Regions from separate parts of the Homo sapiens genome. Here regions 1 and 2 are each linked to region 3. Evidence: promoter capture Hi-C in human tissues and cell types (Jung and others, 2019). All regions are on one chromosome and are shown on one strand. Each heading gives the region's core, a stretch centred on a gene start or on the middle of the fragment in contact. The rest is flanking DNA. Distances are from core to core; before and after follow the strand shown.

Region 1 (3,287 bases), core at 682-3,181, 65 kb after region 3:
TCATATTACAAGCCATACATAATTTGATTAAGGAATAAAATTTATAAAATGCAAATAACTATTGCTTATAACAAAATTAAGCAAGACCAAAAAAAGCAACTCCAAACAAAATGCTATACTGAGCTGTCTCAAGCAGCTCACTGACTAATCTGCTCATATTTATTCCTGTAGTTCTTCCATTTTCTAGATGTGGCTGTGAAATGTGCTGCACTCAAAGCTGGAAGATCAACGCAAAAAGTAGTAAGAATGACCAAGAGGCTCTAAGGGTAGAAAATAAGGGGTAAATAAAGAAGCAAACTTTTTAAATGGTCAGCTCCAGTGAAACATTATTTTTCCAGCTGTACTAAAAACAAAAACTTTCTATTGTTTTGAAACCTTCAAGTCCTTTACCTATTGCCCTTTTCCCACTTTGTTTTAATAATACAAAAATGTAAAACATCTCTTAGGAACGTAAATTATAGACCAGGCATGGTAACTCAGGCCTATAATCCCAGCACTCTGAGAGGCCAAAGCAGGAGGATCACTTGACCTCAGGAATTTAAGACCAGGAGGAGACCTCTTCTCTACAAAAAGTAAAAAAGTAAAAAAAAAAAAAAAAAAATTAGCCAGGCGTGGTGGTGCACACGTGTGGTCCCATCTACTCAGGAGGCTGAGGTGGGAGGATCACTTGGGCCCGAGAGGCTGCAAGGCTACAGTGAGCCATGATCATGCCACTGCACTCCAGCCTAGACAACAGAGCAAGACTGTGTATCTAAAAAAAGAAAAAAAATAGAAATTATGTTACAGTAAGGGTGCTGATTATCTCACGTATGTTAATGTTCCAAATTGATAAAGCTGGCTTAAACCACAATCTCCACTAAGGAAAAACACTACATTATATAATCCAAAAATTTAAATTAATATTTGTATGTTTTCCTTCGTTATATCAGAGTAGATGACAGTCAATGATTGGGCCTATCACTAGCCCTTAATTCCAATTCCTTGCATTTCTTTTCATCTTAGCATTTACCATTTTTTAAGGTCTACTACCAGTGATGATCCTTGTAAAGAGAGATACAGGACACAATTTAGGAAAGAATATCCCAAGCCTACTCTCTGACAATGTGATCAGATCCTCCTCACCTGTATTTGTTCCTCCTAGAGTGAACCCAGTGGCAGGTTTAGATCCAAAGAGCCCGGTTCCAAAACCACTTGAAGGAGCAGATGTAGTTGCTGGAGTTGAAGTACTTCCAAGATTTCCAAAATTGAGCCCCACAGAAGGGTTGCTTATTTAAAGAAACAAAAACAAAACAAAAATCACATGCACAAAAGGAGGTCTACTAGAGCCAATATTTACTTAAGAAAAATAAAAATTAACTCTTCAAGATAATTTCATTCACATAACATATCTAATACATTGTCATAGGACCCAAAAAGAAAAATAAATTTACCTTTAACCCATCAAGTTCAAATATGTTTCTGTTCTTCCTTAAAAATAAATCCACATGTAAAAGTAGTCTTAAAAAAAAATAAATCCACATGTAAAAGTAGTCTTAAAAAATACAATACCAGATTTCAGGCTGGGTGTGGTGGCTCATGCCTGTAATTCCAGCACTTTGGGAGGCCGAGGCAGGTGGATCACAAGGTCAGGAGTTCGAGACCAGCCTGACCAACAGGGTGAAACCTCGTCTCTTCCAAAAATACAAAAATTAGCCAGGTGTGGTGGTGGCACACGCCTGTAATTCCAGCTACTCAGGAGGCTGAGGCAGGAGAATTGCTTGAACCCGGGAGGCAGGTCGCAGTCAGCTGAGATAGTGTCACTGCACTCCAGTTTGAGTGACAGAGCGAGACTCCCTCTCAAAAAAAAAAAAAAAAAAAAATACAATACCAGATTTCAAGAAAAGCAGTCTACAGCAATAAGGATTCCAGATCTCAAGGTAATCATAAGTAGGGATCACAATTATTCTGCTTTCACCAATGTTTGAAACCTAGCATATTTTTAAATGGTCATAGAAAAGTTATTTTAAATTATCTTCACTAGCTTTCCATTGCTACATTACCACATTCATGGGGCAATGTGGTGTTGGGGAGAGTATAGACTTAGGTATTTTACCACCAAAAAAAGCATAGAAAAACTAGTGGGGACATTTCCTGGCAAAAGTTAAACGCAAAGCAAAATCACCCTGTCTCAGGATCATGTATTCATTAACAGAAACTCTTCAGAGCACAGTGCAAAGCTTAAAAAAAGAACAGCTGATAAAAACAAGTGAAAGTGAACAAACTTCACAACTTTTCAACTACTCTTATCAAGACTCAGGGGTTCAGATTTGCTATGAAAAGGTGGGAAGACAAACTGTGAAAATAAGCAAATTTTGACAAGTTGACACTTCCAAAATTATGTAGGAGATTTAAGGGAGACTATACAGCATAATGGCAAATTCTCTTTATCCTACATATTTATCTTTATTATTTCCTTTGCTGCCCTTCCATAAAGAATAATCACCATGGGAGAACCCAATGTCATTTTTAAAGTCTCAAAAGCCCTGGCAGCAGTAGTGTGGCTGGGTTCCAGTACCAATCCCCCCATGTTCTGGTACTTGTGTGCCATTACTTAACCTTTCTGAGCCTCTATTTCCTCATCTGCAAAACAGGAATTAACAGTACCCACTTAGCAGATTTTTTTTTTTTTTTTTTTTTTGAGACGGAGTCTCACTCTGTTGCCCAGGCTGGAGTGCAGTGGCACTCCGCAAGCTCCGGCTCCCGGGTTCACCCCATTCTCCTACCTCAGCCTCCGGAGTAGCTCAGACTATAGGTGCCTGCCACCACACCCAGCTAATTTTTTGTATTTTTACTAGAGACAGGGTTTCACCATGTTAGCCAGGATGGTCTCAATCTCCTGACCTCGTGATCCACCTGCCTCGGCCTCCCAAAGTGCTGGGATTACAGGCGTGAGCCACCGCACCCGGCCAGCAGAATTTTTTTTTAAATATAAGGGTTCAGAGCACAGGATGAATTAACTTCAATAAATGTTGTTATGACTGTTATCATTAGGGATACTTATAAATTTAACTAAACATATTATGTACAAGGCGTTATGCCAGGAATAGCAAGGGAGCAGAAAGATGTCCCCTAGTCAAGGAACATGCCGTTTACCAGGGGGATAAACAACACAAATAACTGTACTCCAAGCCAGAAGAGTTCTCCAAGTTACTTGGGTCCGGGTGTCTTCAATTTCATAATCAGCTTAAGAAGCCACTCAAATTTTTGCAAACACTGGGAGACAAGGAGGAAAAGAAATACTCAAGCAG
Region 2 (3,111 bases), core at 325-2,824, 87 kb before region 3:
GGTGATACTTTATTTACAACCTAGTTGGCTCCGGCACAGTGGGTGAAAGTTGAGCCACTGTAATTTGAAGTCTTGTTTCCAATAAGTACAGCAATATACACTGGGCTTCTGTTCCTCAAAACCCATTTTATACCTTAGATGTATTAAATTTATCCTGTAAATTAAATGAAGACAAATGTGCTTTTAAGGAAATGTATTTCATATCTAAAACCAAAAACAACAACAAAAAAGAAAAGCTATGTTTCAAACACTCAACTCAGAGTAATTTTTCATATGGGTTGGATTGGTTGAGTTTTAAAAATACAAGTCCAGTTACTTCTCCTTAGCAACTTCCTCTGTTGCTAGGATAGACATTCTCCATTGCTCGTAGGACCCCAACACTGGCCCAAGTTAGGGACACCAGCTTTAAAATCTCATTGCTGATTCGATATGCATGAACACCATCTTTGAACAGCTAACCTAGGAGAGGGGCGGTTTCCTTTGAAGCTGTGGTTTGCCTGTCCTGAGCATATTTTGTTTGCTTCTTTGTTTGTTTTTGTTTGTTTGAGACGGAGTCTCACCCTGTTGCCCAGGCTGGAGTGCAATGGCGCAATCTCGGCTCACTGCAACCTCTGCCTCCCAGATTCAAGCAGTTCTCCCACCTCAGCCTCCCAAGTAGCTGGGATTATAGGCACCCACCATCATGCCCGGCTAATTTTTGTATTTTTGTAGAGATGGAGTTTCACCATATTGGCCAGACTAGTATTGAACTCCTGACCTCAGGTGATCCGCCCACCTCGGCCTCCCAAAGTGCTGGGATTACAGGCGTGAGCCACTGCATCCAACCTTGTCCTAAGCATTTTGAAGACCCACACAGCTTGGCCAAAGGCTCATGGCTTCACTGCAACCAACCCCATAGCCAGCCTACCTCCCCAGTGACATCAGTGACCCCTCTCCTGCTGCTCCTGAACCCCACCCATGATGACCTTCTTTCCTCAAGACATCAGCTCTGTTCCTTCTCCAGAGACCTGGTACTTGCTTTTTCTTCACCTAGAATGTCATTCCCTAGTCTTTGCTAACTAACTTCTTCCTGTCACTCAGGCATCAGCTTAAATGTCACTTCCCCACAGAAGCACTTTGTGACCACGCCCTAGCTACAGCATTCCCCTTCTCACTTATTCCCTAACACCACACATTATTTCTTGCATGGACATACCACTCCATAAAATGTGTGTGTTCATTTTCTGTCTTCCAACATTCTCTAGGAGCTCCAGGAGGGCAGGGCCCATGCTCATCTTCATCACCTCTGCATCCCCAGGAAATAGGATGCAGAAGGCATTCAGTAAACATGTTTGACGAGTGAATCAAGCGAACACAAAATTTCGCATTCTGTCTTAAGTGGACAGAGAAAAATGCAATTCTTTAAATTTAGTCTGCAACTAATCTGACCCACCTCCTAAGGCATCATCCTGTATAGAAAGCTGGGAAAAAATGGAAATGTCCAGTTTTGTTGGTAGCTCAGTCCAATGTGAAAAGTTTAAGTAAGTGGTATTCAGTCTTCCTTGAATAAGGATGCTTTAGCTCCCAAATCACTTCATCGTCCTCTGGCTTCTCTCTTGAAAATGGTGCTGGATCCATGGAGGGTAGAGATGGGGGCATGGGGAATAGTTGGGATCCTTACACATAAATGCCTTCTGCCTCCTCTGGTCTGCAGAATGACATCCCTGGTCCCCTTGCTGGCATTTGGATTATGTCTGTGACTGGTCTGGCTTGGCTTTGTCAAAGGGCATCTGTGTTCCCTAGATGGCTCTGCCTCACCTGGGCTCCCTCTGCAGAGACTACAGCACCTGCTGTGCTCTCTCTGCCACCTTCTGTCAGCCTCATTCCACAACCCTACCAAGCGAGGTCCCAGAGAGGCCCCAGGAGCTTTCAGATTAGCTCCCAGACCACATGGGAAGCACAAGTAGGCAGTTCAAGAAAACGGGACCTCCCTGTTGCTCCTCAGTATTATCCTCACTTATCCCACACACCTCATCTCTCCAACTGGGAAAACTTTCCCCACGGAGAGAAACATCAAGGTGTATCTCATTACATTGCTTTCTTTCCTCCTCCTGCCTTCCACTCCACCTTCTGGAAATCAAAAACAGGCAAGTGTTTTAATGCACTTCCCTCATGCCATTCTTCTGGATTCCAAACACTCCTTAAAATTATAGTGGCTGGAATTGCAGGTGCGCCCTAACACATGAGGCTTCTGCAGGGCATGGCGAGTGCACCTGTAAATTCCGGCTACTCAGGACGCTGAGGCGGGAGGATTGCTTGAGCCCAAGAGTTTAAGGCCAGCATGGGCAACACAGAAAGACCCTCATCTCAAAAACAAAAAACCTGCTTAGGTATCTCTTCTTTAATGTGGAAAATGTTGAGAGTCAAGCCATCCAACTCTTGTAAGTGTGAGATATTTATAATATAACTATATAAGGCAGATTAATATATACAATTAAGTATTGTATGTATTACAAAGAAGAATTAGTCTACAAAGTCTCCTCGTAAACAAAAGGCTGGCTTGCCTAATCCTGCTATTTTTGAAAGACATACGATGAACACGTCTTGATGTTTCTCTTGACATTCCTTCTAATCTTTCTTGGGGAGGTGGAGGCTCCAAGCAGACGGAAGTCAACAGTCAAGTACAAGAGAAAAACACATTCATTTGCTTCAACTATAGCCCCAGTTTCTCATGCCAATTATCCTGTCCTGTTTGCTTACAATCACTGGTCATATGAACCCAATGCTCTACTTCCATCAGCAGTCTTAACCCACTAAATACATGCAGTCAGATTTGAGCAAGTCACTACAGAGGCCAGCTCATTCACTTTTGTTCCCAACTCCACTGACACAAAATAGACTTCCCCAGTAGGATGGCTTTTCCCGACTCTCTTGTTGAGTTGACATTTTGTGTATCACGTTTTCTTCTCAGACACAGAAGTGAGAAAGTTTAAAATATGAGAAAATCTTTAAAAAGCAAGAGCACTGCCAAAGAGATGCATATGCAATCATCTGAATCCAAGGCCTCCACAACCGACTCAGGGTTGCCAGGTCGATTTGTTGTCTTTGCCATGTCACTAAGGTGCCATAGAT
Region 3 (3,333 bases), core at 150-2,649:
AGTTTAACAAACATTGGCTTAAATTACCTGATAAGCTTGCTTCCCTCTCACGTTACTCAACTACAGAAATACAAAAGTCGCTTATTTTTATGTGCCTATTTTCTCAAAACAAATAAAAAAGCACGAAGACAAGTGACCCCAGCTCCAAACTGTACACCCTCTACCTTCCTCATGTCAAAGATCTACCTGCAAACTTGCCGCAGTCCTGAAACGGTAAGAAATCATTTTTGGGGCTCCTCTTTACGTCTGCATTAACTAATGGTCTAGGTAACCCTATCAAGTGTCATAGCCACATAACATCCAGCTCCACGACATCATAGTTTCTAAATGTGTTCTATAATCATAGAACGCGGGCCTCTAACAGTGTGAGTGGTCGGGTATGGTACATGCGTGTTTGGCTTTAGGTTTCGAGTTCCAACACCCAGGCGCCTGCAGGCAGGGTATGTGTACGCGTGCGTGTGTACGTGTGTGTGTACCTGTGTGTGTGTGTGCGCGCGCGTGTGCGTGTGTGTGTTCGTCTCCAGATGGTTGTATGCACGGATGGTTATGAGCCAGTACGTCGCCGCTGTGAGCGCGCGAGGACCCGGGGCTCCAAGTGGTGAGAATCACTCGAGGGACCCTTCGGATGCCTTTTTCCCCCTCTGCTTTTGAGCTCTGCAGCACAGCGGTGCCGGCCGCCGGCAGGGAAGGCTGCATCTTCTCTGCGCCGCCAAACCGTGCCCACCATCGCGGTGACTGCCGCCTAGGTCGCATCCCTGAGCCGCATCCGCGCGTAGGGGCGCACGGGCACGCGCACAGGGAGGCCGCACACACACACACACATCTGTACAGGGACGAGCCGGGGGTCTCTGACGCCCGCCGCTCACCTCGCCCCGGCCTGGAGCCTTTTGGCCCCGCAGGTGCAGCGACGCCCAGCCCCCGTGCGGCCAGCGCGCCGCGTCGGCGGATCCTGCAGCCCAGAGAGCCCAGGGAGCCCAGGGAGGGGAGCGGGGCGCGGGCGGGGCAGTGTCGCATAACCGCAGGCGCGCCCCGCGCCGCCCCCGCCCCGGGCCCACCCTCCCTCGCCGCGCCCCTCCCAGCTCACCCACGGACGAGCGGATCCTCGACCTCCGCGGCAGGGACATCTTAAGAGCTTTGTCCAGGCCTGCGCCGTTCAGCATCTCGCCCGTGTCGGGGGCTCGGCGGCCCCGGGCGAGAGACGGAGGCTACGCGCAGGGCTGGGCGCAGGGGCCGCCGCCCGAGGACCATGGGTGGGCCAGCGCCTCGCCGGGCTGCTAGCTGGCGGGGACCGCCGGCGCCTGTGCCGGGCCGCGCCCGAGGCTGCGCCGTCCGTGCCGCAGCGGCCAATGCGGCAGCATCCGCGAACGCCACCGCGGCGGGCCCCGCTGGCCCGGGCTGCGGCGTGGGGGCGGGGGACCGGCCCTGAGCGGAGCCCCGCGGGAGGAGGAGCGGACGGGAGGCTGGGAGGGATCCGCAATATTACGCAGGACCGGGGCTTTTAGGTGTCGGGGAAGGCGATGGGGAGGGCTTGGTGGGGTGGGAGATTGGGCCTGTACTTTCGGGGGCTCTTCCAGGAGAGGGGTGCACCTGGGGGACTCGGAGTCTCTGCCTGTCTGCTACCTATTTACCTGCCTGTCACTTGTCCTGTGCAAGTGGAGGCGCTGTGATTCCCCAGGACTCATCCAGTCCCTTTCTTTTCGCAGTTTCTGTTCTTCCGTGCCCAGCCTGGTGGGATCTGTGTAGGGACTTCGTGGAAGGGTTATTTCCAAGGTGTCTGATGTGTGGCTTGGCACTCAGAGAAGTCGGGGGTCTCCAGCCCCCCACTCTCCACAACCTGCCTGACATTCTAACTACGCATATTAAAGCTGCAGGTAGCCCTAGGGAACCTTAACAGCAACCTTCTCAACCCCCGCACGCACACACACACACACACACACCCATCGACACACACACACACACACACAGACCCATCGACACACACACACACACACCCATCGACACACACACACACACACCTTCTTTCATAAAACAAAACCATCGAGAGGTAAGATGACTTGTCCAAGGTCACTTGATCTATTTTTTGTTTTTTCTTATCGCGTAATGTTTAGACTGTGCTTGGTCTTTCTGGGCACAATCCCATGAAGATAAGAAGCTATCTTTATTGTGCCTGATGACATTCTGACCTCGGAGTAAAAACGGAACAAAACAAAAATAAAACTGTTCAGGTGAAAGTCTGACCTTGCTTTTACTGATGCGAGCATTACATTTCTTTTAACCTAAATTAACATTAGGGACTGACAAGGAGTAGTACAGAGTTCAGCAAAAAGAATCTGTGCTAGCAAAGACAGCAGTGCGGCCTGAGCTCCTCCTGCCTGGCCTCTGCATCTGATTTTATTTTCTTTTACTTTTTTTTTTTCTTTGACAGAGTTTTGCTCTTGTTGCCCAGGCTGGAGTGCAATGGCGCTATCTCGGCCCACTGCAACCTCCGTCGCCCGGGTTCAAGTGATTCTTGTGTCTCAGCCTCCCGAGTAGCTGGGATTACAGGCGCCCACCACCACGCCCAGCTAATTTTTGTATTTTTAGTAGAGACGGGGTTTCACTAAGTTGGCCAAGCTGGTCTCGAACTCCTGACCTCAGGCGATCCACCTGCCTCGGCCTCCCAAAGTGCTGGGATTACAAGCGTGAGCCACCACCCCCGGCCTCTGCTTCTAATTTTCTTAAGAACAAACATCCAGGCCGCGCGTGGTGGCTCACGCCTGTAATCCCAGCACTTTGGGAGGCAAAGGCGGTCAGATCATGAGGTCAGGAGATGGAGACCATCCTGGCTACCGCGGTGAAACCCCGTCTCTACTAAAAATACAAAAAAAAAATCGCCGGGTGTGGTGGCAGGTGCCTGTAGTCCCAGCTACTCGGGAGGCTGAGGCAGGAGAATCGCTTGAACCCAGGAGGTGGAGGTTGCAGTGAGCGGAAATCATGTCACTGCACTCCAGCCTGGGTGCCAGAGTAAGACTCCACCAAAAACAAAACAAGACAAAACAAAAAACAACATCCAAAGGGACAGGCAACTTACACTGAAAACTGCAGGCTGGCAAGAATCTACACTAAATGTAGCTTCAGGTAGGATTCTTTACCTGTCTCTTCTGGGCCCTCAAAAAATTTTTCTGATAAGAAATGAATCTTTATCAGGAAGATGAATCAAAATAAAATTTTCTAAATTGTTGAGCTAAGCTTCAGAGTGGGAGAGGTTTTCTCAGTGGATCTTCATTGCTGCTGAGGATAAATCTTAAAGCTGGGGCTAATCCTAGGACTGGATTTGTCAAAAACTTGTCACTA

What was found. The method cuts DNA at HindIII sites, captures the fragments that hold promoters and counts their contacts. A contact is called where the count stands out against the background at its distance.
Region 1: a fragment that was not itself captured here is called in contact with the fragment with the promoter of ATP8A2 in region 3 in 2 of the 25 tissues and cell types used here (dorsolateral prefrontal cortex and heart left ventricle).
Region 2: a fragment that was not itself captured here is called in contact with the fragment with the promoter of ATP8A2 in region 3 in 2 of the 25 tissues and cell types used here (bladder and heart right ventricle).

Annotation. Positions count from the first base shown.
Region 1 is chr13:25,305,784-25,309,070 of GRCh38, reverse strand. It overlaps NUP58 (nucleoporin 58), which reads right to left. Exons shown (of 16, transcript NM_014089.4): 2 at 1,123-1,265. Among named protein-coding and RNA genes, the nearest start is that of NUP58, 5.8 kb to the right of the region's middle. The HindIII fragment of the contact is 6,165 bases long and covers 1-3,287 here.
Region 2 is chr13:25,457,635-25,460,745 of GRCh38, reverse strand. All of the region lies in intron 1 of ATP8A2 (ATPase phospholipid transporting 8A2), which reads right to left. Among named protein-coding and RNA genes, the nearest start is that of ATP8A2, 87 kb to the right of the region's middle. The HindIII fragment of the contact is 5,097 bases long and covers 1-3,111 here.
Region 3 is chr13:25,370,040-25,373,372 of GRCh38, reverse strand. It overlaps ATP8A2 (ATPase phospholipid transporting 8A2), which reads right to left and starts at 1,399. Exons shown (of 37, transcript NM_016529.6): 1 at 1,085-1,399. The coding sequence starts at 1,160. The HindIII fragment of the contact is 5,522 bases long and covers 1-3,333 here.